Linked DNA regions of Homo sapiens: all the other regions are linked to region 3. The links are contacts of gene promoters, found by promoter capture Hi-C in blood cells and fetal thymus (Javierre and others, 2016). All regions are on one chromosome and are shown on one strand. The core of a region is centred on a gene start or on the middle of the fragment in contact, and the rest is flanking DNA. Distances in the headings are between cores, read along the strand shown. Region 1 overlaps TMCC1 (transmembrane and coiled-coil domain family 1). Region 2 overlaps TMCC1 (transmembrane and coiled-coil domain family 1). Region 3 holds the start of RHO (rhodopsin). Region 4 overlaps TMCC1 (transmembrane and coiled-coil domain family 1).

Region 1 (5,959 bases), core at 1,432-3,931, 280 kb before region 3:
CCTCTTGTTAAGTGAGAACATGAGGTATATGGTTTTCTGTTCCTGTGTTAGTTTGTGTAGGATAATGGCCTCCAGCTCCGTAAGGACATGATCTCATTATTTTTTTATTGCTGTGTAGTATTCTGTGGTGTACATGTACCACATTTTCTTTATCCAGTCTACCATTGATGGGCATTTAGGATGATTCCATGTCTTTGCTATTGTGAATAGTGCTGCAGTGAACATACATGTGCATGTGTCTTTGTGGAATAATTATTTATATTCCTTTGGGAAAATACATAATAGGATTGCTGGGTTAAATGGTAATTCTGTTTTAAGTTATTTGAGAAATCGCCAGACTGCTTTCCATAATGGCTGGACTAATTTACATTCCTACTGGCAGTGTGTAAGTGTTCTCTTTTCTCCACAACCTCACCAGCATCTGTTATTTTTTGACTTTTTAATAATAGACATTCTGACTGGTGTGAGATGGTATCTTATTGTGGTTTAGATTTGCATTTCTCTAATGATTAGTGATGTTGAGTATTTTTTCATAAGCCTGTTGCTGCATGCATGTTATCTTTTGAAAAGTGTTCGTTCATGTCGTTTGCCCACTTTTTAATGAGGGTTGTCTGATTTAAGTTCCTTATAGATTCTGAATATTAGACCTTTATCTGATGTATAGTTTGCAAGTATTTTCAAGTATTTTCTCCCCTTCTGTAGGCTGTTTACTCTTTGATAGTTTCTTCTGTTGTGCAGAAGCTCTTTAGTTTCATTGGGTCCCATTTGTTTATTTTTGGTTTTGTTGCAATCGCTTTTGGCATCTTTGTTATGAAGTCTTTGCCAGGTCCTATGTCCAGATGGTATTTCCTAGGTTATCTTCAAAGGTTTTTATAGTTTTTCATTTTAGATTTAAGTCTTAAATATGCCTCATCTTTTTAAGCTTAAAATTATCTCACCTTAAAAACAATAACCTTAGTGTCTCTACCTTTTCTTTTTTTGGGGCGAGGTCGGGTATTTGTTTTGTGAAATCCAGCCAGTGAAGATAAACCAGCAATAAATTTATAGCTTCTTCAATAAAATATCTTGAACAGGGGTATTAAAAGTGAAATCTCAGTACCAGAGATTTGATTTGAGTATTGTGGATGTGATTGTAGTCCTACAGAGTACCAGCTTAAGTTTCTTTGTTATAGTTGTGGTGTTCTTCTTTCCTCTTTTACATAATGCCCTGTTTTTTTCTCATTGGCTTTTTTTTTTTTTTTTTTTTTTTGAGACAGAGTCTTGCTCTGTTGCCTAGGCTGGAGTGCAGTGGCGTGATCTCACTGCACCCTCCACCTCCCAGATTCAAGTGATTCTTCTGCCTCAGCTTCCCAAGAAGCTGGGATTACAGGTGCGTGCCACCACATCTAGCTAATTTTTGCATATTTAGCAGAGATGGAGTTTCACTGTGTTGGCCAGGCTGATCTTGATTTCCTGATCTCAGGTGATTTGCCCACCTTGGCCTCCCAAAGTGCTGGGATTATAGGCATGAGCCACCACGCCCAGCCATTTCTCATTGTTAACACAAAGGTAAAAGCCCTTCTGTACTAATGAATCTAAGAGTATTGAATAGTAAGAATCACCAAAACTTGATTTCTTTCTTTCTTTTTTTTTTTTTTAAATTGAGGCAGAGTCTTGCTCTGTCACCCAGGCTGGAGTGCAGTGGCACAACCTGGGCTCACTGCAACCTCCGCCTACTGGGTTCAAGTGATTCTCCTTCCTGAGCCTCCTGAGTAGCTGGGATTACAGGCGCATGCCACCACGCCCAGCTAAGTTTTGTATTTTTAGTAGAGACAGGGTTTCGCCATGTTGGCCAGGCTGGGCTCGAACCCCTGACCTCAGGTGATCTGCCCACCTCAGCCTCCCAAAGTGCTGGGATTACAGGTATGAGCCACTGCACCTGGCCCAAAACTTGATTTCTTTTTTAAAAAAATGCATAGTCTTGCATTTATTGAAGATTTGCTGAGAAAATTCCCATCTCAGGATCACTTTTCTCAAATGGTTGGACACAGTGGCTCATGCCCCTAATCCCAGCACTTTGGGAGGCTGATGTGGGAGGATCACTGGAGCCAGGAGTTCAAGACCAGCCTGGGCAACACAGTGAGACCCCTGTCTCTACAAGAAATTTTAAAAAAAACAGCCAGGTGTGGTGGCACACACCTGTAGTCCAAGCTACTTGGGAGGCTGAGGCAGGAGGATCACTTGAGGCCAAGAGTTGAGGTTACAGGGAGCTGTTGACTGTGCCACTGCAGTCCAGTCTGGGCAACAGAGTGATATCCTATCTCTAAAAAATTAAAAATAATATATAAAATGAATGGCCATGAAAGTGAGCATCCTAATTCTGATCTATTTGTTTCTGAGCATTTCTTTGTAAGCTTAACAATGGAGTAGTGCATCAGAGTAACTGATCAATATAACCTTCCCCATGTGGATGCTCTGAGGAATACGCTTTAGAATTTTAGTGATATAGAAGCTTATTTAGAAGAACATACACAGTCTTAGGGAGCATACTCTTGGTTTATTAATTAAAAAAACTCATATGTTAAGCAGCTGTGCAAATGCACATTTAAATAACCATTTTACCATAGGATAGGACTAGAATACCTTAAACATTGTTTTCTGCCTTAAGCTCACCACAGGCTTTCCAATAACATTAAACTTGTTTCAACAGTTGTAGATGTTCAAGACACAGCTATACATTCTTCTAGGTGAAAGAACAGTATCCAGGTTTTCTGCTCCATAGAATTGTTATTTTCTATAAAAATGCAAAACACCTGAAGGAAACAATTTACCTAATTTTGTTGTTGTAAATGTGATTGCTTATGAATTGAAACATTGCTTTGATAAGCTTCCTTCCATATTCGTTGATGTCATACATTGTCTTTATATTATATAATTTGTGATGAGTTATACCATAGAATCAAGTTCAGTTTAAGCAGATAAATGCTTGTGAGATTAACATATTCTTCTTAGGAATGTTTGCCCATTGAGCCTTAAGATATAGGGTGAACTTGCTTAAGTTTCTGTACATAAAGATAAAATGCAAGCTGTTTTCTATTGTCAGGAGTTTAGCTTTATGAGAATGAGTATAAAGGTTTTGTGATCCGATTATAGTTCAGGAGGATTTAGGCCACAGTATAAATTACCTGTTTTGGTTCTGCGTACTAGTATGTGATATATGTCTCTTGATTTTTGCTTAGTTTTGTTTTGTTTTTTTTGGGAGACAGTGTCTCTCACTCTGTTGCCCAGTGGTGCAATCTTGGCTCACTGCAACCCCTGCCTCCTGGGTTTAAGTGATTCTCCCACCTCAGCCTCCCTAGTAGCTGGGACTACACGTGCCCGCCACCATGCCCAGCTAATTTTTGTATGTTTTTGTAGAAATGGGGTTTTACCATGTTGCCCAGGCTGGTCTTGAACTTGTGAGCTCAAGCCATCCACCCACCTTGGCCTCCCAAAGTGCTGGGATTACAGGTGTGAGCTACCGCATCCAGCCTGATTTTTGCTCATAGTTCTGTATCAGTATCTTTTGTTGCCTTAGGGTGCAGAGATGTGTGGATTAGTACAGAAATTCAAGACAAGTTTGACTTTCACATGTTGTTTTCATTGTTATGAGGATTTGTAGCTCTAATGTTTTTCTACATAAAATCAGTAAAACTAAATAAAATCAGGGTCCTTATTTAGATGAGTAACTTGCTTTGTCACATCAAGATTAAATGTACTGTTTTAGTGGGATTTACCTAAAAAGAGGTAAAAAAAGAATTGGCTACTACTGAAACCGGGAAAATTGTTTGCAAAATGCATTAATGTTCAGTATGGAAAATACCAAAAGCTATTCTTTTTTGCAGGATTTCAGTACTTTAACTAAATGTTTTTCTATAAATACTGTCTTTACCTCTCTCTCTCTTCTTTTGCACCCTGGAGATTTTTTTTTTCTTCCTGTCAGTTTGTATCTCTTATCATTTACTGTCTGTGGCTTCACAATACTGTATTGTTACAGTACCATTTAAAAAATTACAGCTGGAAGCTCTGAAATGCATCCTGACAAAGGAAGGCTGAATTGTGTGGCTTTAGGCCAACAGTAAGCTACAGGAACAAATGAAATTAAGAAGTTAATATTATTTCAGATATGTGTTTGTGTCCTTAGTCTTACAGAGAATTATTAAAACCAGGAATTTAAAAGTCATATCTGCTTTCCAACACTAGGAGTATGAAACATTTTACTTGCTTGTGAATCTTCTATTTTAAATGTTATTTTTTGTGAACAACTTTCTGTAGATTTATTTAATATAATCTTCCAGAATTTTTTTTTTTTTTTTTTTTTGAGATGGAATCTTGGTCTGTCGCCTAGGCTGGAGTGCAGTGGCGCGATCTCAGCTCACTGCAAGCTCCACCTCCTGGGTTCACACCACTCTCCTGCCTCAGCCTCCCAAGTAGCTGGGACTACAGGTGCCTGCCACCACACCCAGCTAACTTTTTGTATTTTTAGTAGAGATGCGGTTTCACTGTGTTAGCCAGGATGGTTAGCCAGGTCAGGATCTCCTGACCTCGTGATCTGGGATTACAGGTGTGAGCCACTGCTCCTGGCCTAATCTTCCAGGTTTGTTAAGCTCTCAGAAACAAGTTTCTTTGTTTTTTTTTTTTTTTTTCCAGCATATCTAACCCAAGTAAAATTTATTTTAACTTTTTGATCTTTTAATTTTTTATTCTGAAATTTATCTAAATATTTTCTAAATAACATGCTTATGCTGCTATTTTTTTTTCTGTTTTGGATATCTTGACTTCCTTTAATGAAAATGATCATGTAGCTTTCTTATTATCTTTTTCCTATCCATATCTTATTAAAATTTTAGTTATATTTCAATATGCTGTTTACATTATGCCAATGTAAATATATTTACAACTTGAGCTTTGTAGTATAATATGATTACACTTCCCTTTTTATACACCTTTTTGCTGTCTCTGGAGTTAATTGCTTTAATTTTTGTTGTTTATAACTGTCATTGGGTTCTCTCCAAATTCTCAAAGAACTGTAAATCTTTCATTATTTTCTTTTTTTTAAATTTTATTATTATTATTATTATTATTTGAGATGGAGTCTTGCTCTGTTGCACAGGCTGGAGTTCAGTGGTGTGATCTTGGCTCATTGCAACCTCCACCTCCTGGGTTCAAGCTATTCTCTTGCCTCAGCCTCCCGAGTAGCTAGGATTACAGGTGCACACCACCATACCCACTAAATTTTGCATTTTTAGTGGAGACGAGGTTTCACCATGTTGGCCAGGCTGGTCTCAAACTCCTGACCTCAGGTGATCTGCCTGCATTGGCCTCCCAAAGTGCTGGGATTACAGGCGTGAGCCATCATGCCCAGCCTTATTTATATATATATTTTTAGACAGGGTCTTGCTCTGTCACCCAGGCTGGAGTGCCATAGCACAGTCGCAGCTCACTACAGCCTTGACCCCCCACCCCCGACCCCAGTTTCAAGCGATCCTCCCAAAATCTCTCAATATTTTCAAAACAGCATTTACTCTTCTCAGTTTCAGCTTTTCTTGGAGATACACTTCTGGAAGCTCTCACTTTTCCTCTAGTCTGAATTGACTACTCTCCAAGAGTGTTGCACATCTTTTGTTCTGGGACTCCTTAATCTATTAATAAATAACATTCTTTGGTTCCTTGATTTCATATCCTCTTTTTGGTTTATTCCTTTCTTTTCTTGAAATGTACACTCTATGAGCCTTATAGAATAAGGGTGCATGGAAGATAATTTTTCAGAAATTATGCCCATTCCAAAATTTATTTTACCTTTATACTTTAATGGTAGTTTGGCTGAGTACTGAATTTTAGGTTGTAAATAAATTGCCCATGTATTCTTGTATTGTTAGCTTTTAGCTTCCAGTATTGACAAAAAATCTGGTGCCATTCTGATTCTTGACCCTCTGGGTAT
Region 2 (5,497 bases), core at 560-3,059, 310 kb before region 3:
ACCTCCCAAGTTGCAGTGATTCCCGTGCCTCAGTCTCCTGAGTAGCTGGGACTACAGGTGCATGTCACCAAGCCCAGCTAATTTTGGTAGTTTTGGTAGAAACAGGGTTTTGCCATGTAGGCCAGGCTGGTCTTGAACTCCTAGCCTCAAGTGATCTGCCCACCCCAGCCTCCTAAAGTGCTGAGATTACCACGGTGAGCCACTATGCCTGGCCAATCTGCTTACTTGGTTTATCAATTACTAAGGGTTAACTGTTAATAAAAGTCTACTATAATTGTAATTTGTCTTTATTTTCTGTCATACCTATCAGTTTTGCCTCATGTATTTTGAAGCTTTGTTTTAAGGTACATACACATTTAGAATTGTTATGTCTTCTTAGGAACTGACCCTATTATAATACCCCTTGTATTAGTTTGTTTTCACAATGCTATAAAGAACTACCTGAGACTGGGTAATCTATAAAGAAAAGAGGTTTAATTGACTCACAGTGCCGCATGGCTGGGGAGGCCTCAGGAAACTTATAATCATGGCAGAAGGGAAAGTAAGTCACGTCTTACATGGTGGCAGGAGTGGGGGCAGAACTGCCACACACTGTAAAACCATCAGATCTTGTGAGAACTCACTATCACAAGAACAGCAGCTTGAATTTCTCCCCCAGAAAATGGGTTTTTCTTTTCTACTACATGGTAAGGCTGCAAATTTTCCAAACTTTTATGCTCTGCTTCCCTTTTAAACATAAGTTCCAATTTCAGACTATCTCTTTGTGAACACATATGACATACAATGAACATTTTCATTATTATTATTATTATTTTGAGAGGGAGTCTCACTCTGTTGCCCAGGCTGGAGTGCAATGACACGATCTTGGCTCACTGCAACCTCTGCCTCCCAGTTCAAGTGATTCTCCTGCCTCAGCCTCCCAAGCTGGGACTACAGGTGTATGCCACCATGCCCAGCTAATTTTTGTATTTTTAGTGGAAACGGAGTTTCACCATATTGGCCAGATTGGTCTCGAACTTCTGACGTCAGGTGATCCACCTGCCTTGGCCTCCCAAAGTGCCGGGATTACAGGCATGAGCCACTGTCCCCGGCTGACAGTACGCTTTCAGAAAAAGCCAGGTCACATCTTGAATGCTTTGCTGCTTAGAAATTTCTCCTGCCAGATACTCTAAATCATGTCTTTCAAGTTCAAAGTTCCGCAGATCTCTAGGGCAGGGACAAAATGCCACCAGTCTGTTTGCTAAGGCATAGCAAGAGTGACCTTTGCTCCAGTTCACAATAAGTTTCTCATCTCCATCTTGGGCCACTTCAGCCTGGATTCATTGTCCATATCACAATCAGCACTTTGGTAAAAATCTTCTAACAAGTCTCTAGGAAGTTCCAAACTTTCCCACATCTTCCTGCCTTCTTCTGAGCCCTCCAAACTTTTCCAGCCTCTGTCTGTTACCCAGTTCCAAAGTCACTCCACATTTTCTGGTATCTATAGTAGTACCCCATTCCTGGTACCAATTTTCTGGGTTAGTCCATTTTCACACTGCTATAAAAAACTACCTGAGACTGGGTAGTTTATAAAGAAAAGAGGTTTAATTTGACTCTCAGCCCCACATGGCTGGGAAGGCCTCAGGAAACTTAAAATCATCGCAGAAGGTGAAGGGGAAGAAAGGCATGTCTTACATGGCAGCAGGAGTGGGGTGGGGAACTGTCACATACTTTTAAACAATCAGATTTCATGAGAACTCATTATCACAAGAACAGGGGGAAACCACCCCCGTGATCCAGTCGCCTCCCACCAAGTCCCTCCCTTGACATGTGTGGATTACAATTCAAGATGAGATTTGGGTAGGGACACAGAGCCAAACCAGATCACTCCTCTTTATCCTTGACAATCTTTCTTGTTCTGAAATCTACTTTGTCTGCAATTCATTTGGCTACAGTAGCTTTCTTTTGATTAATTAGTGTTTGTATGGTATATTTTTCTCCATTGTTTTATTTTTTTCCTCTTTAAATCTTTGCTTAGCAGGCTTCTTGTGGACCGAATATAGCTTGATCTTGCTTTTTTTTTTTTTTTTTTGAGACAGGTTCTCACTCTGTCACCCTGGTTGGAGTACAGTAGCATGATCATGGCTCATTGCAGCCTTGACCTCCTGGGTTCAATCAATCCTCCCACCTCAATGTCCTAAGTAGCTGGACTTACAGGCATATGCCACCATGCCCAGCTATATTTTGTATTTTTGTAGAGAAAGGGTTTCACCATGTTGCCCAGGGTAGTCTTGGGCTCCTGGGCTCAAGCGATCCTTCTGCCTCAGCCTCCCAAAGTGCTGGGATTACAGGTGTGAGCCATTACACCCGGCCTGGTCTTGCTTTTTTTTTTCTCCCCCAGTCTGACAATCTGTTTTTTAACTGGTAAGACTATTTACATTTAAAGTGATTATTAGTATAATTAGATGAAAACCTACCATCTTGCTAGCTCTTCTCTATTTGTTGCATTTGTTGTTTGTTTCTTTTTTTATTTTTTGAGACAAGGTCTCTCTCTCACCCAGGCTGGAGTACAGTGGCATAATTATGGTTCACTGTAGCCTGGACCTCCTGGGCTCAAGTGATTCTCTCACCTCGGTCTCCCCAGTAGCTGGTACTACAGGTGCACACCACCATGCCTGGTGAATTTTTAAATTTTTCGTAGATATGGGGTCTCACTATGTTGCCCAGGCTGGTCTCAAACTCTTGGGCTCAAGCGATCCTCCTACCTCTTGAGTAGCTGGGACTATAGGTGTGTGCCACCATGCCTAGCTAATTTTTCTATTTTTTTGTAGAGAAGAGGTCTTGCCGTGTTGCCTAGGCTGGTCTTAAACTTCTGAACTGAAATAATTCTGCTGCCTCAGCCTCCTGAGTAGCTGGGACTATAGGCATGCGCCTGTGTGGTTTTTTTCCTACTGCCTTCTTTGGTGTGATTTTTTTTTTAATTCCATTTTACTTTATTGACTTATCACTTAGATTTCTTTAAAAAGGTTTTTAGTGGTTGCTTTTTTGTTTACATTATACATTTTAAAATAACCTGAGTTTTTCAGGTGTTTTGCCACTTCGCATTTAGTTAAAGTATGGTTATAGTGTGTTCCCAGTTCTTCCCTCTTTTCCCTTTTGCCATTGTTGTTAAGCGTTTTACTTTTACCTGTGGGGTACTTATCCAATACATTGTTACTGCTTTAAGCAATTATCTTTTAGAGCAATGAAAAATAAAAAAATTATACTTTACCTTCATTTATTCTTCATTTTGTAGATTCAAGCTTCTCACTTTTATATATTTTTCTACCTGAAGGACTTCTGTTAATATTTCTTATAGGATGGGTCTCCTGGCAGTGAATTCTCTATTTTTGCTTGTCTGGAGGAAAGCCTTTATTTTGTACGTATGAAGGATATTTTCACTGGATGTAGAATACTGGATGGGCAGTTTTCTTTTCAGCACTTTAAAGTTGTCACTCCACTGTCTTACGAAGTTTCTGATGGTAAGTTTATTATAATCTTATATCTTTATTCCTCTGTATGTAACATATTTTCCCCTCTTTGACTGCCTTCAAGAGCCTTTGGCTTTCAGCAGTTTGAATATGATATGCCTAGATATCCTTTTTTTTTTTTTTTTTTTTTTTTTTTGAGACAGAGTCTTGCTCTGTCACCCAGGCTAGAGTGCATTGGCGCGATCTCGGCTCACTGCAACCTCCACCTCCCAGGTTCAAGTGATTCTCCTGCCTCAGCCTCCTGAGTAGCTGGGATTACAGGCACGCACCACCACACCTGGCTAATTTTTGTATTTTTAGTAGAGACGGGGTTTCACCCTGTTGGTCAGGCTGGTCTCAAACTCCTGACCTTGTGATCTGCCCGTCTCGGCCTCCCAAAGTGTTGGATTACAGGCATGAGCCACCGTGCCCAGCCCCCTTTTTTGGTATTGTTTGGCATTTTCAGTTTCTTTTTCTTTTTTTCTTTTTCTTTTATTTTTTGAGACAGGGTCTTGCCCTGTCATCCAGGCTGGAATGCAGTGGGACGCTCACGGCTCTTTGCAGCCTCGACCTCCAGGGCCCAAGCAGTCCTCCCAGGGCCCAGGCTTCTCAAGTAGCTGGGACCACAGGCATGTGCCATCATTCCCGGCTGATTTTTTTGTTTATTTTTAGGGATGAGGTCTCCCTATGCTGCCCAGGCTGGTCTCCTGGGCTCAAGCCATCCTCCCGCCTCAGCCTTCCAAAGTGCTGGGATTATAGGCATGAGGCACCATGCCCAGCCTGTTTTCAGAGTTTCTTATTGTTACTCTGTAGTTTAGTGTCTTATCACTAATTTCGGTAAGTTCTTGGCCATTCAAATGTTTCTTCTCTGTTGTCTCTTCTTCTGGACTTCTGCCACAGCTGTTGTATGTTCTCCAGGTGGGAAAATCTCTTTTCTCTTTATATTTCAGTTTGGGTAGTTTCTACTAGCCTATTTTCAAGTTTACTGATTCTTTTTTCAGCTGTTTCAAGTCTACTTGATAAGCCTCTCAAAGGCATTTGTCATTACTATGTCTTTATTTCTAATTTGGTTTCCACTTGATTTTTTATAATTTTCATTTATCTCTGAAATTACCTGTCTGATCTCATATGTTGTCTACCTCTTTCATTAGAGTTTTTACTGTATTAATCACGTTCTAATTTACTGTCTTGTAGTTCCAAAATTTATGTCATACGTGGGTCTGGCTCTGATAATTGCTTTGTCCCTTTGAGCTGTGTTTTTATTACTGCCTTTGCCATGCTTCATAATTTTTGTTTAAAGCTGAATGTGCTGTATATGACAGGAGATACTGAGGTATATGCTTGATATGCTTACTGAAGACTGCTAGTTTCCTGCAAGTCCTTTAGGGTGGAGATTTGTGTTAATCTGTTCAGGCATTGGGCTGTGTTTGATGTTTATTATTGCAATGGTTACTGGAGTTGACATTTATTGTTGCCATGGGAACTAGAGGCTTCAAATTTTCCCAGTAATACCTTGTTCTTGTCTTCCTGCTTGGCTTTGGGTTTTCCCTTTGTGCTGTTTCTCCGTGAGAGTCTGAGTCTTGCAGCTTTCTCAGGTGTATTCCATTGTTTTTACTCAAAGCCTGTCAGTTAGTGGAGGGTGAGGGGAGTTCTGTGATGTTCTGGTTAAGCCTCAGATTTATGCAGATAGTAGAACCTGGGTCTTGGGGGTGTGGCCTTCAGAAGACTATTCCCTTCTTTTTCCCAACTGCTATGGGGATTCAATAGTATCCTCAAGCTAAGGTTTTTTTCAGCTCTTTCCGCCTGCATTTAAGGCTATTGCTGTTTTAGAGAAACAGTGAAGATGGATAAGGGTGAAAATTGGGTGTCAGCTTCCTTTCCTTCCTCCAGCTGTAGTGGGATTCCACCAGAAATTGCTCCTTGCTGATTAAGCCTTTTGTTCCACAGGGAGATAAGGGAAATAGGCTGGTTTGGTATTGTTGCTTGCTCTTCCCTCATTAGCTCCACGG
Region 3 (5,536 bases), core at 285-2,784:
AACAACCACCCGTAAGTGGCACACCCACCTTCTGGCCAGAACTGAGTGATCTGTGATTATTGAATGCAACAAACACCCAACAATGGCCAGAGATTCCCTGAGAATGGGACCGAGGCAGCAGCCTGGACATGGGGGAGACAGGGCAAGGCTGGCAGAGAGACGCTTGTGGCTGGCGGTAAGCTCTCCCCGTCACCCAGCTTTGCAATGGCTGCTTCTAGCGTCTCCTCCTGCATCTCAGCAGAGATATTCCTGGATCACAGCCAGGAGACCTAGGCTCTTGTTGCTGCCTGGCCACATCCCTAAATGAGTCTCTTCCCCTCTCCCTGCCTCAGTTTTCCTCTCTGTTAAGTGGGATCTGTTATCCCTGCAGCACCCCATCTGTTTTCCTGTTAAATGCAAGACATTATTCTAAAGCAAAAAGGAACTGCTTCAGAGCGGCTGCTTGCGGTTCTCAACACCAGGAGACTTGGAACGCGGCAGGGAGGCTGGAGGGGCACCTGAGGACAGGGGCTGAGAGGGGAGGCAGAGGATGCCAGAGGGGACCGAGCCCATTGCCCAGCACAGGGAAGACCCAATGACTGGAGAATGGAAAATCCACTTCCCACCCTGAGCTTGGGCCCCCAGAGAGGAGGGGTCTGGCTTGCCCAGCTCTCCCTCAGTGCCCAGCCTGGGTCTGACTCAGCACAGCTGCTCCAAGGGAAACAGAGGCTTGGTGCTGCAAACATGGCCCGAGATAGATGCGGGCTTCCAACTCAACTCTGCACCCGTCCCTGTGTGACGCCCCAGCAGGGCGCTTGACTTCTTTGAGCCTCAGCTCAGTTTTCTTGCTGTGAAATTAGACAAGCGCATATTGCTCCAAATAAGATCAAGGCAGTGTTCAGTGCCAGCCCTGCACAAACAGCAGCCCGGCTATCACCATGAATGGTGTTTGTTGACTGAATATATGAGGGCTTTGGATAACATTGACAGGACAGGAGAAGGGAGAAGGCCTCTCAGCCACCACCGCCAAGCCCGGGACTCTCCCAGACCCCTCCATGCTCCCGGGCTCCTGCACACCCCACCCACACCCGGCTCATACCGCCCAGGGTGGCAAAGAAGCCCTCCAAATTGCATCCTGTGGGCCCGAAGACGAAGTATCCATGCAGAGAGGTGTAGAGGGTGCTGGTGAAGCCACCTAGGACCATGAAGAGGTCAGCCACGGCTAGGTTGAGCAGGATGTAGTTGAGAGGCGTGCGCAGCTTCTTGTGCTGGACGGTGACGTAGAGCGTGAGGAAGTTGATGGGGAAGCCCAGCACGATCAGCAGAAACATGTAGGCGGCCAGCATGGAGAACTGCCATGGCTCAGCCAGGTAGTACTGTGGGTACTCGAAGGGGCTGCGTACCACACCCGTCGCATTGGAGAAGGGCACGTAGAAGTTAGGGCCTTCTGTGCCATTCATGGCTGTGGCCCTTGTGGCTGACCCGTGGCTGCTCCCACCCAAGAATGCTGCGAAGGCCTGAGCTCAGCCACTCAGGGCTCCAGCTGGATGACTCTGGGTTCTGACCCCCCCAGACCCTTATAAAGTGACCTCCCCCTCCTAAGCTCCTGGCTGAATCAGCATCTGGGAGATTGGGGGTGTTCATAATCATATTAATCCCCGCTGCAGAAACTGAGGGCCTAATTGGCTTCTAAGAGGGGCCAAGGTGACACTAGGAGGAAGCCTGAGGTCAGGGAGGAGAGGTACTCAGGATCCAGGAAAAGGGAGGAGAAGGTCCCCTAACTTCTGCATGACTTGTCTGTCCCAAGGTCCCAGCTCAGTCTGGTGGCCTGGGTTTGAAATAGGGACCATGGGCCTCTGTGCTATGTCCTCTGGACAGCTAGAGACTTTCTGGTTTATTCTCCCAGTCTCTCATCTCGTCACACAGCCCCTTACCTGTTCGTTCCCCCACAAGTTACCTCTGGAGTCATCCAGTCCCCACACTCCTCTGACAGGAGGAGCTCCATGAGGGCAGGGGCTGCAACCTGCAGCTTCCGTTTCTGGTGCCAGACACATAGCCTAGGGCCCAGGAGCCCAATCCTTGTTGCATGGAATTGGAATTCACTCTCTTGTTCGTTCATTAAACATTTATTTGCAGGCCCCTGGGAATACAAAGATGGAAAGAAACAGCCCTGCCCAGAGGAGCTCAGGGGCTGAGGAGGACTCAAATGTGGGAAGAAGCAGATTCCGTCCAGGGTGGCTGTGAGGTTGTGGAGACAGGGCCTGACTGCCTGGGGGTTGCAGTCTGGGAGGCCATGTTTGGGCCTTTGAGAGAAGGAGCAGTTTGCCAGGTGGCTAGGTGGGGAAGATCTGGGCTGGGGGCAGTTGTAATGGGTCTTGAACGCTAGGCCGGGGAACCTGGCTTTATCCAGAGGAAAGTGAGCAGTGGCTTGGGCAGATCACTGGTGTAGAAAGGTGACTCAAATGCCCCCAAAGATGGAGTGGAGGGAGGGAGGATGGAGGGGGCTACCAGAGCAGGGGAGGGGCAGAACCCTTCAGGGGACTCCAGTCTGAAGGGGAGGCTGGCCCTGGAGGCAGCAGACAGGGCACTGTTGGGGGAGGCCTAATCAGCCACGAGGGCCTCAAATGCCATGTACCAGGTGGCCCCACGAGGGCCGATTCCAGAATAGCAGGATGTACCGTGAGAAAGAAAGTAGTCAGAGCCTTGGGGGCAGATGACTGGGGGAAAATGGAGGCCAACACTGGCAGGTCCCCCTCTCCCCGTCGTCCAAGCAACATGATGACACCTCCCAGGAATGAAGTGGGGTGTCTGGGGCGGCCTGTGCAAGTGCTGAGAGTGCCCGACGTGCGGCCGCTCAGTGACCACTGTCCAGCCAACATGTGTATTGAGCACCTACTGTGGCCCAGACAAGGTGCTTGGTCCTTGGGGACACACAGGGTACACGAAAGAGCAAGCTCCTGCTCACAAGAAGCCAGTGTTTTTGTGGGGTGAGGGGGCACAGGGACCACAAACAAATAGAAGAGCGAATAACAGTAGGGACAGTTCAGTCGCAGCCACTCCCAACACAGGAGGCTTCTCTGAGAAGCTGGAGCTTGAGCTGAGAACGGAACAACAGGAGGAAGCTTCAGGGGAAGGACATCCAGGCGGAAGGACCCCTGAGAGTGCAAAGCCCTGATGCCTGGGAAATATCCCTTAATCTCTCTCTCACTGTCTCTCTTCCCACCCAGGATTCCCAGATCTGTCTGCTCAGAAGAGTGCCCCCTTCCCTGCAGCCCACCTGGGCTCCAGCCCCCTACCTGGCCTGGGTGGTGTTGGGTCTAACAGCGTTTGGCACACGTGGCAGGGCTAAGGCAGGGCGGGTGGGATGGGGCCTCTCGTAGTTTAAGGCGCTTGGCCTGGTGATTATGCCCAACGCTAATGAGGTTAAGGTGAGGGTTTGATTCTGACGTGGACCCTCATGGCCAGAAGGAGGGTGTCCTGGATGCCTTGGGTCAAGACTGACCCACAACTGGCCCCTCCCTGGCCGGGCTGAGCCCCCATCCCACACAGCTTAGCAGTACCTCAGCATCTTGCTTTTTGCATAGTGCTTCTGACAGCATGGAAGCTTTTTATTTGTGTTTTGTGCCCGTCTCCCTGCCTGTAACATGAGTCCACAAGGGTAAGCCTGGGTCTGTCTTGCTCACAACAGGGTTCCCAGAGACCAGCATGGTGCTTGGCCTGTAGTGGAAAGAGGTGGGATGATGTCTGTTTTGTTCACTGATGTGTCTCCAGGGCCTGGCACCTAGAAGGTGCTCCTGAATATTTGTTGAATGAACGAGTGAGTGGGGGAATGGACCTAGATGATCTCAGTACTTCCCCTCTCTGTCTCAGGTTCCTCCTTTGTGAGTTTCACAATTGCAACCTCATGGAGCCCTGGTGATGGGGAACTAACAGCCATCACTGAGGTGACAGTGCTCTTTATTCTGTAAAGCTTGACGAAGAAAAAAAAAGTTTTGAGACAAGGTCTCTGTCGCCCAGGCTGGAGTGCAGTGCCACAATCATAGCTCACTGTAGCCTCTGCCTCCTGGGCTCAAGCGATCCTCTCACCTCAGCCTCCTGAGTAGCTGGGACCACAAGTGCACACCACTAGTTTTTGTATTTTTTGTAGGGGTGGAGTCTCGCTATGTTGCCCAGGCTGGTCCTGAACTCCTGGCTCAAGCGATCCACCCTCCTCGGCCTCCCAAAGTGCCAGGATTATAGGAGTGAACCACCGTGTCCGGCCCAAGAAATTTTTTTTTAAACAAAAAATGCTCTTTGTTCAGGAAAACAGACTCATAGTGAGCTGGAAGGGTCATTCGAAGTCACCTACTCTGACCATCTCTGCTATATCCATTTTGCAGATGAAAAGACTGAGGCCTAGCTCTGCAGAGTTGCTCAGGTCCCGTTACAAATCAGTGACAGCCTGGGCTATAACCCACACAGTCAACTGGGCTTCCTGGGGTATCAGCTTCCCAAACCTGGCTATGCCTCCCTCCCCTCATCAAAGATAGCTCTCAGGAAAGACCAGCCAGCCATTCACACCATGGTATAAATGACTAAAGAAAGGTTTAGCTGGGGTAATGGAAAGGCCCTAGACTGAGTCACACAGGCCTGGCGTGGGGCAGTGGAAGCCTCGAGGAGAGGAGGCTGGATTCTAGCTGGTCTTTGAGTCACCATGGTAGTCCTGCTTCCTTCCCCTCTCTGGGCCTCAGTTTGCTCAGACGAGGAAGCCTCAGTGTGGGGTAGGGGCACACCCATCTATACAGTAAACCTCACCTGCTTTCTCCATGAGAGCCTGGTTCGTGAATCTTTAGACCCTATGGCCTTGGTTTCACTGTTCTCCCTCATTGGGCAAGGCTCTTTTCCACCCACCCTTACATCTGGACTGAGGCTACACAGCCTGGGTGCAGCCAGCTACCCCGCCCTCCCGAGAGTGTGCTTCGGTTCTCCACTCTGTAAAATGGGAATGATAATAGTGCCTACCTAATAGGATTATTGGGAGTGCTTGTAAGTGATCAATATATTTGTTGCTGACAGTATTAATCTCTTCCTGAGTCTCCTTCAGGTCTCCGCTCACACTCATGTCCTTGGAGAGACCACCCCTGACCATCCTACACACCAGGCACCCCCACCAGGTTTAGCTGTTTTGAGACAGGGTCTCACTCTGTCACCCAAGCTGGAGTGCAGTGGTGTGATCTTGGCTCACTGCAACCTCCTCTTCCTGGGTTCAAGCGATTCTCCTGCCTTAGCCTCCCAAGTAACCAGGACTACAGGCATGTACTGCCATGCCTGGCTAATTTTTATATTTTTAGTACAGACAGGATTTTGCCATGTTAGCCAGGCTGGTCTCTAACTCCTGATCTCAAGTGATCCATCCGCCTCGGCCTCCCAAAGTGCTGGGGTTACAGGCGTGAGCCACCACACCTGGCCTATTGTTTTTTGAGACAGGGTATCACTCTGTGACTCAGGTTGGAGTGCAGCGGCATGATCATGGCTCACTGCAGCCTCAACCTCCTGGGCTCAAGCGGTCCACCACCTC
Region 4 (5,805 bases), core at 3,028-5,527, 350 kb before region 3:
TTTGTTTGTGTGTTTTTGAGACAGCGTCTCGCTCTGTCACCCAGGGTGGAGTGCAGTGGTGTAAACATGAATTACTGCAGCCTTGACCTCCTAGGTTCAAGTGATCCTTCCACTTCAGCCTCCTGAATAGCTGGGACCACAGGTGCCTGTCACCATTCCTGGCAAATTTTTACAGTTTTTTGTAGAAATGGGGCCTCACCATGTTGCCCGGACTGATCTCAAACTCCTGGGGTCAAATAATCCTCCCATGTTGGTCTCCCAAAGTGCTGGGATTACAGGCATGAGTCAACACACCCGGCCCATTTTAACCTTATTGATTGATTGATTGTCTCGCTCTGTCACCCAGAGTAGAGTGCAGTGGTGCGATCTCAGCTCACTGCAACCTCCGCCTCCCGGGTTCAAGCGATTCTCCTGCCTCAGCCTCCCAAGTAGCTGGGATTACAGGCATGTGCCACCATACCTGGCTAATTTTGTGTGTGTGTGTGTGTGTGTGTGTGTGTTTTTAGTAGAGGCAGGGTTTCACCACGTTGGCCAGGCTGGTCTCGAACTCCTGACCTCAGGTGATCTGCCCACTTTGGCCTCCCAAAGTGCTGGGATTACAGGCATAAACCACCACGCCTGGCTGATTTTAACCATTTTTAAGTGTGGTGTTCAGTAATGTTAAATACATTCATAATGTTGTGCAACCATCACTATCATCCATCTCCATTACTCCTTTCATCTTGCAAACTGAAAGTCTTTTAAACACTAACTCCCCAGACCCCCTCCTCTGGCCTCTGGAAGCCACTATTCTACTGTCTTTGAATTTGACTACCCTAGGTACCTCATATAAGTGGAATCATACAGTACTTGTCTTTTTGTGACTGTCTCCTGTCACTTAATATAATGTCCTGAAGGTTCATCCATGTTGTAGTATTTTTCAGAATGTTCTTTCTTTTTAAGACTGCATAGTATTCCATTGTATATGATATACCACATTTTGCTTATCTATGCATCTGTTCATGGACATATGACACTTGAGTTGCTTCCACTTTTTGGCTATCATGAATAATGCTGCTGTGAACATGACTGTACAGATATCTCTTACAGACCACACTTTAAATCTTTTTTGCTATAAACCCAGAAGTGGAATTGCTGGATCATATGGTAATTCTATTTTCATTTTTTTAGGACTTCCATACTGTTTTCCCCAGTGGCTGTAGCATCGTACATTCCTATCAGCAGTGCACAAGGGTTCCACTTTCTCCATATCCTTGCCAGCACTTGTTGTTTTCTGTTTTTTTTTTTTAATCATAGCTATCCCTAATGGGTATGAGTGGTATCTGATTGTAGTTTTGATTTGCATTTCCCTAATTATTTGTGATATTGAGCATCTTTTTATGTGTTTATCAGCCATTCATGTATCTCCTTCGTAGAAATATCCTTTGCCCATTTTTATCAGGTTGTTTTTGTTTTGAGTTTTAAGAGTTCTCTGTATATTCTGGATGATAGATGATCTGTAAATATTTTCTCTCATTCCATATTCCTCTGGCTCCTTTTAAGATTTTTCTTTATGTCTGGTTTCAAGGAATTTGATTTTGTTGTGCCCTGGTGGAGTATAAGCTTTCTTTTGAGTTTTTTGCTCTTGTTGTTAAGCTTTTGGAGTTTGTGGGTTTATACTTTTCATCAGATTTGGAACATCTTTGGCTATTATTTCTCCAAATAGTCACACATCGCTCCTCGGATTCCAGTTACATATATATTATTAGGTTCTTGAAGTTGTCCCATACCTTACTGATGCTCTGCTCTTTTTCTTTGGTCTTATATTTTGGGTTTCATTTTGGATAGTTTTTATTTCTGTGTCTTTACATTCACTCGTCTTTCCTTCTGCTGTGTCTTGACTGCTGCTAGTTCCATCCAATGTATTTCATTTTATATATTCTATAATTTGTGGTTTGATAGAAATGCAGTGATGTAGCAGGTATCAATAAATACTGCCTTAATTTGTTGCGAAAATATAACAGATTTCTTGTTCTGTATGTTAGCTAAAAAGGTATGCAAACCACCCTGTATGTCATATTAACATTTATGTCCCTTTGTTTTCATGTCAACTTTTAGTTTCTCTGCCAAAACCTACATATGTTTTTTTTATATGATTATTCTACATTTTCTGCTGAGAGTGGACATCTGCATTAGTAGTTCTATGATATTTGTTTTATAAGTTGCCAGAATGGTTGCTCTGTTTGGCAGACTGCAGACAAATATTTATCTATGATTCGTTGCATGATATGACCATGATTTTGCTACAAAAAACTTGAAATAGATTTTAATATTTTCTTTACTATTATCAGAGAGAGAGCTGGATTACCTGCAAAAGTGTACTTTTGCTTATTGCTGTCATTGATAACTCAGTGCCAGCTGGGCGTGGTCACTGGTATTACCTCCATGTGATCACTTTTTGTTCACTAATGTTAATTTAAAAAATTTTAGGCTGGGCGCAGGTGGCTCACACCTGTAATCCCAGCACTTTGGGAGGCCGAGGCAGGGGGATCATGAGGTCAGGAGATCAAGACCAGCCTGGCCAACATGGTGAAACCCAGTCTCTACTGAAAATACAAAAATTAGCCTGGCATGGTGGTAAGCGCCTGTTATGCCAGCTACTTGGGAGGATGAGGCAGGAGAATCGCTTGAACCTGGGAGGTGGAGGTTGCAGTGAGCCAAGATTGCACCATTGCACTCCAGCCTGGGCAACAAGAGCAAAACTCTGTCTCAAAAAAAAAAAAAAAAGAAAAAAAATTTGCAGCCTGAGAACTGATATACTTCAGACCAGAAGTATTTCAGATTTTTTTTAGATTTTGGAATATTTGTATTATACTTATCAGTTGAGCATCCCTAGTTGGAAAGTCTGAACTCTGAAATGCTCCAATGAGTGTGTCTTTTGAGCATCATGTTGGGACTCAAAAGTTTTCAGATTTTGGGGCATTTTGGGTTTTGGCCTTTCAAAGTTGGGATGCTCAGCCTGTCATTGCTTGTCAGACAGTCATTTGCATTCAGTAGTTCTTTCTCCTTTTCTTGCTTCTCTGTCCCAGCAGGTATTAATCTCTGGAGAAGACACATCCACAGTTAGCACTTTCTTCAGATGCTGACGCTCGGTGAACAGTTGCCTTTGGTCACAAGATTTAGAAGACACAGTGTCCATCCTCCCAGATTGGATCTCTTTTTCATATGGATCTTCTGTTTCTATGTCTTTTTAAAAAATAACTTTTTGGGAAACCTTTTGGATTACAACTGTTCATCCTCACCTATGCAAAGAAAGGGAAGCTATTGCTGGGATTTTGAGGAGGTATGTCGTTTTTTCTTCTACTGCAAAATCACATCACCCAGGCACTCAGAACAGTATAAAATAATTATACTTTCCTCTCTATAACTCAGTTCTCATTCATTTACTTGTTCCATCTTCCTTTCTCCCATTTTCTCTTTTTTTCTAGCACCTGTAGCTCAACAAGAACTTTCTTAATGTATATAATGAAACAGCTCATTTCCTACATTCTTCCTGAATGTTATTAGACACGGGATTAGACTTACAAGTAACGGGGAGCAGCTTGAATTTTTTTCTTTTAAATTAAATCTTTATTTTTTATAATAGAGACAGAGTCTTGCTGTATTGCCCAGGCTGGTCTCAAACTCCTGGGCTCAAGTGATCCCCCACCTCAGCTTCCCAAAGTGCTGGGATTACAGGTGTGAGCCACTGTGCCCAGCTGTAGCTTGCATTCTTATTTCTCAAATTGAAATTGTGACTTGGGTAAACTGAATTTGTTCTCATTCTGCATAGACACTGGATGGTTTAGGAAAGCTTAGTAACGTTAGCATAATATTATGGCTGTATGATTTCATAGTCTGGTTCAGTTTCATTGGCAAGAGGAGGTGTGATATTGTAGAGTTTTGAACTAAAAATTGAGACTTCAGTCCCAGGTTTGACATTATTACTTCCATGCTTTGAGAGTTAAAGTATGTTTGTTTTCTCACCTTTAAAATGGGCTTATCATTACTTGCTTTACACAGCTCATGGGGTTATTGAGAATCAGATAAGAAAATTTGCATGAAAGATTTTTATCAATGTAAAGGATTGTTATTGCGTTGTAGACAGTTATAGGTATATCTGTTGTTTTCACTCAAAGACTCAATTTTTCTTTCTGAAAACCTTTTTTTTTAAGACAACGTCTTGTTCTGTTGCCCAGGCTGGAGTGCAAGGGTGCAGTCGTAGCTCACAGCAATCTCACATTCCTGGGCACAAACAGTCCCCTGCATCAGTGTCTCAGGTAGCTGGGACTGCAGGCATATGCCACTGTGATCAGCTAATATTTTTATTTTTTGTAGAGATGAGGGTCTCGCTATGTTGCCCATGCTGGTCTCGAACTCTTGGGCTCAAGTGATCCTTCCACCTCGGCCTCCCAAAATCCAGGGATTACAGGCATGAGCCACCATCCCTGGCCTGAAATAAATAAATAATGCATAAATGTCATTTTTAAATTTATGATGACAAATTCTAAAGAGAAAAGTAAAAGGAAAGCAGGAATAGAATGTATTGAGGGGAAGGGGTTGAGTGTTCACAGATGGCTTCATACAGAAGGTGACATTTGAGTAAGGGCTTGAAAGAAGTGAAGGAGTGAGCCATACACATATATGAGAAGAGCATTCTAGGCATAGTGAATCACAGTGTACATGTCCTGAGACAGAAGCTTGCCTGAGGAATGGTGAGGGTGGGTCCTTATTTTGTGGTGCTTTATGGAAGTGCTTTTCAAACTTCAATGTGCACATGAATTACCTTGGGGGTTTCTATTAAAATTTAGACTCTAATTTCATAGGTCTGGGGTAGGGCCTAATTCTAATAAGCTCCCAGGTGCTGCTGCTGCTGCTGGTCTTTGTAGGACTTCAGCATTTACACTGAGCAAAATAGGAAGTCTTTGGAGCGTTTGGGCAGGGTGACATGATCTGATTTATATTTTGACATTTTCATTTCTTTGGCTGCTGAGTAGATAGTGGTGGATTGGGCAAGGACAAAAGCAGAAATACTAGTTTGGAGCCTATTACTGTAATCAAGGTGAGAGAAAATGTGGTTTGTGCTAGAGAGTAGCAGTGACTGTGGTAACATGATCTGATTCTGGATATATTTTTCAAGTAGAGTCAGCAGGTTTTGCTGATAGATTGGATATGTGCTGTGAAAGAAAGGAAAGAGTTAAGGTTTTTGTATTGAGTTTCTGGAAGAATGCAGTTGTCATTTATTGAGATGGAGAAGACTGAAAGAAAGAGAAACAAGTTTGCAGGAGAAGTAACAGAAGCTCAGTTTTAGACATAAATTAAACATGCCTATTAAGACTTAGAGATGTTGGCCAGGCGCAGTGGCTCACGCCTGTAATCCCAGTGCTTTGGGAGGCCGAGGCGGGCAGATCACCTGAGGTCAGGAGTTCAAGACCAGCCTGGCGAATGTCGTGAAACCCCATCTCTACTAAAAAAAAAAGTAAAAAATTACCTAGGCATGGTGGTAGGCGCCCGTAATCCCAGCTACTTGGGAGGCTGAGGCAGGAGAATCACTTGAACTTGGGAGGTAGAGGTTGCAGTGAGCCGAGATTGCGCCATTATACTCCAGCCTGGGCTAAAAGAGCGAAACTCTGTCTCAAAAAAAAAATAAAAATAAAAATAAAAACATTAAAAAAAAAGCTGGTCACGGTGGCTCACGCCTGTAATCCCAGCACTTTGGGAGGCCGAGGCGGGTGGATCATGAGATCAGGAGATCAGGAGATCAAGATCACCCTGGCTAACATGGTG

What was found. The method cuts DNA at HindIII sites, captures the fragments that hold promoters and counts their contacts. A CHiCAGO score of 5 or more calls a contact.
Region 1: a fragment that was not itself captured here is called in contact with the fragment with the promoter of RHO in region 3 in 3 of 17 cell types (erythroblasts, total CD8 T cells and endothelial precursors); the score reaches 6.1 in erythroblasts.
Region 2: a contact is called between a fragment that was not itself captured here and the fragment with the promoter of RHO in region 3, in 3 of 17 cell types (erythroblasts, M2 macrophages and M1 macrophages). The highest score is 6.1, in erythroblasts.
Region 4: a fragment that was not itself captured here is called in contact with the fragment with the promoter of RHO in region 3 in 4 of 17 cell types (M1 macrophages, M2 macrophages, M0 macrophages and 1 more); the score reaches 6.1 in M1 macrophages.

Annotation. Positions count from the first base shown.
Region 1 is chr3:129,807,627-129,813,585 of GRCh38, reverse strand. All of the region lies in intron 4 of TMCC1 (transmembrane and coiled-coil domain family 1), which reads left to right. Among named protein-coding and RNA genes, the nearest start is that of TMCC1, 83 kb to the left of the region's middle. The HindIII fragment of the contact is 375 bases long and covers 2,494-2,868 here.
Region 2 is chr3:129,836,901-129,842,397 of GRCh38, reverse strand. The region is part of intron 2 of TMCC1 (transmembrane and coiled-coil domain family 1); the gene reads left to right. Among named protein-coding and RNA genes, the nearest start is that of TMCC1, 54 kb to the left of the region's middle. The HindIII fragment of the contact is 2,949 bases long and covers 335-3,283 here.
Region 3 is chr3:129,524,637-129,530,172 of GRCh38, reverse strand. It overlaps RHO (rhodopsin), which reads right to left and starts at 1,534. Exons shown (of 5, transcript NM_000539.3): 1 at 1,079-1,534. The coding sequence starts at 1,439. RefSeq lists enhancers at 132-857, 858-1,583 and a silencer at 3,781-3,981. The HindIII fragment of the contact is 8,320 bases long and covers 1-3,103 here.
Region 4 is chr3:129,877,826-129,883,630 of GRCh38, reverse strand. It overlaps TMCC1 (transmembrane and coiled-coil domain family 1), which reads left to right. Exons shown (of 7, transcript NM_001017395.5): 2 at 3,072-3,322. Among named protein-coding and RNA genes, the nearest start is that of TMCC1, 13 kb to the left of the region's middle. The HindIII fragment of the contact is 886 bases long and covers 3,835-4,720 here.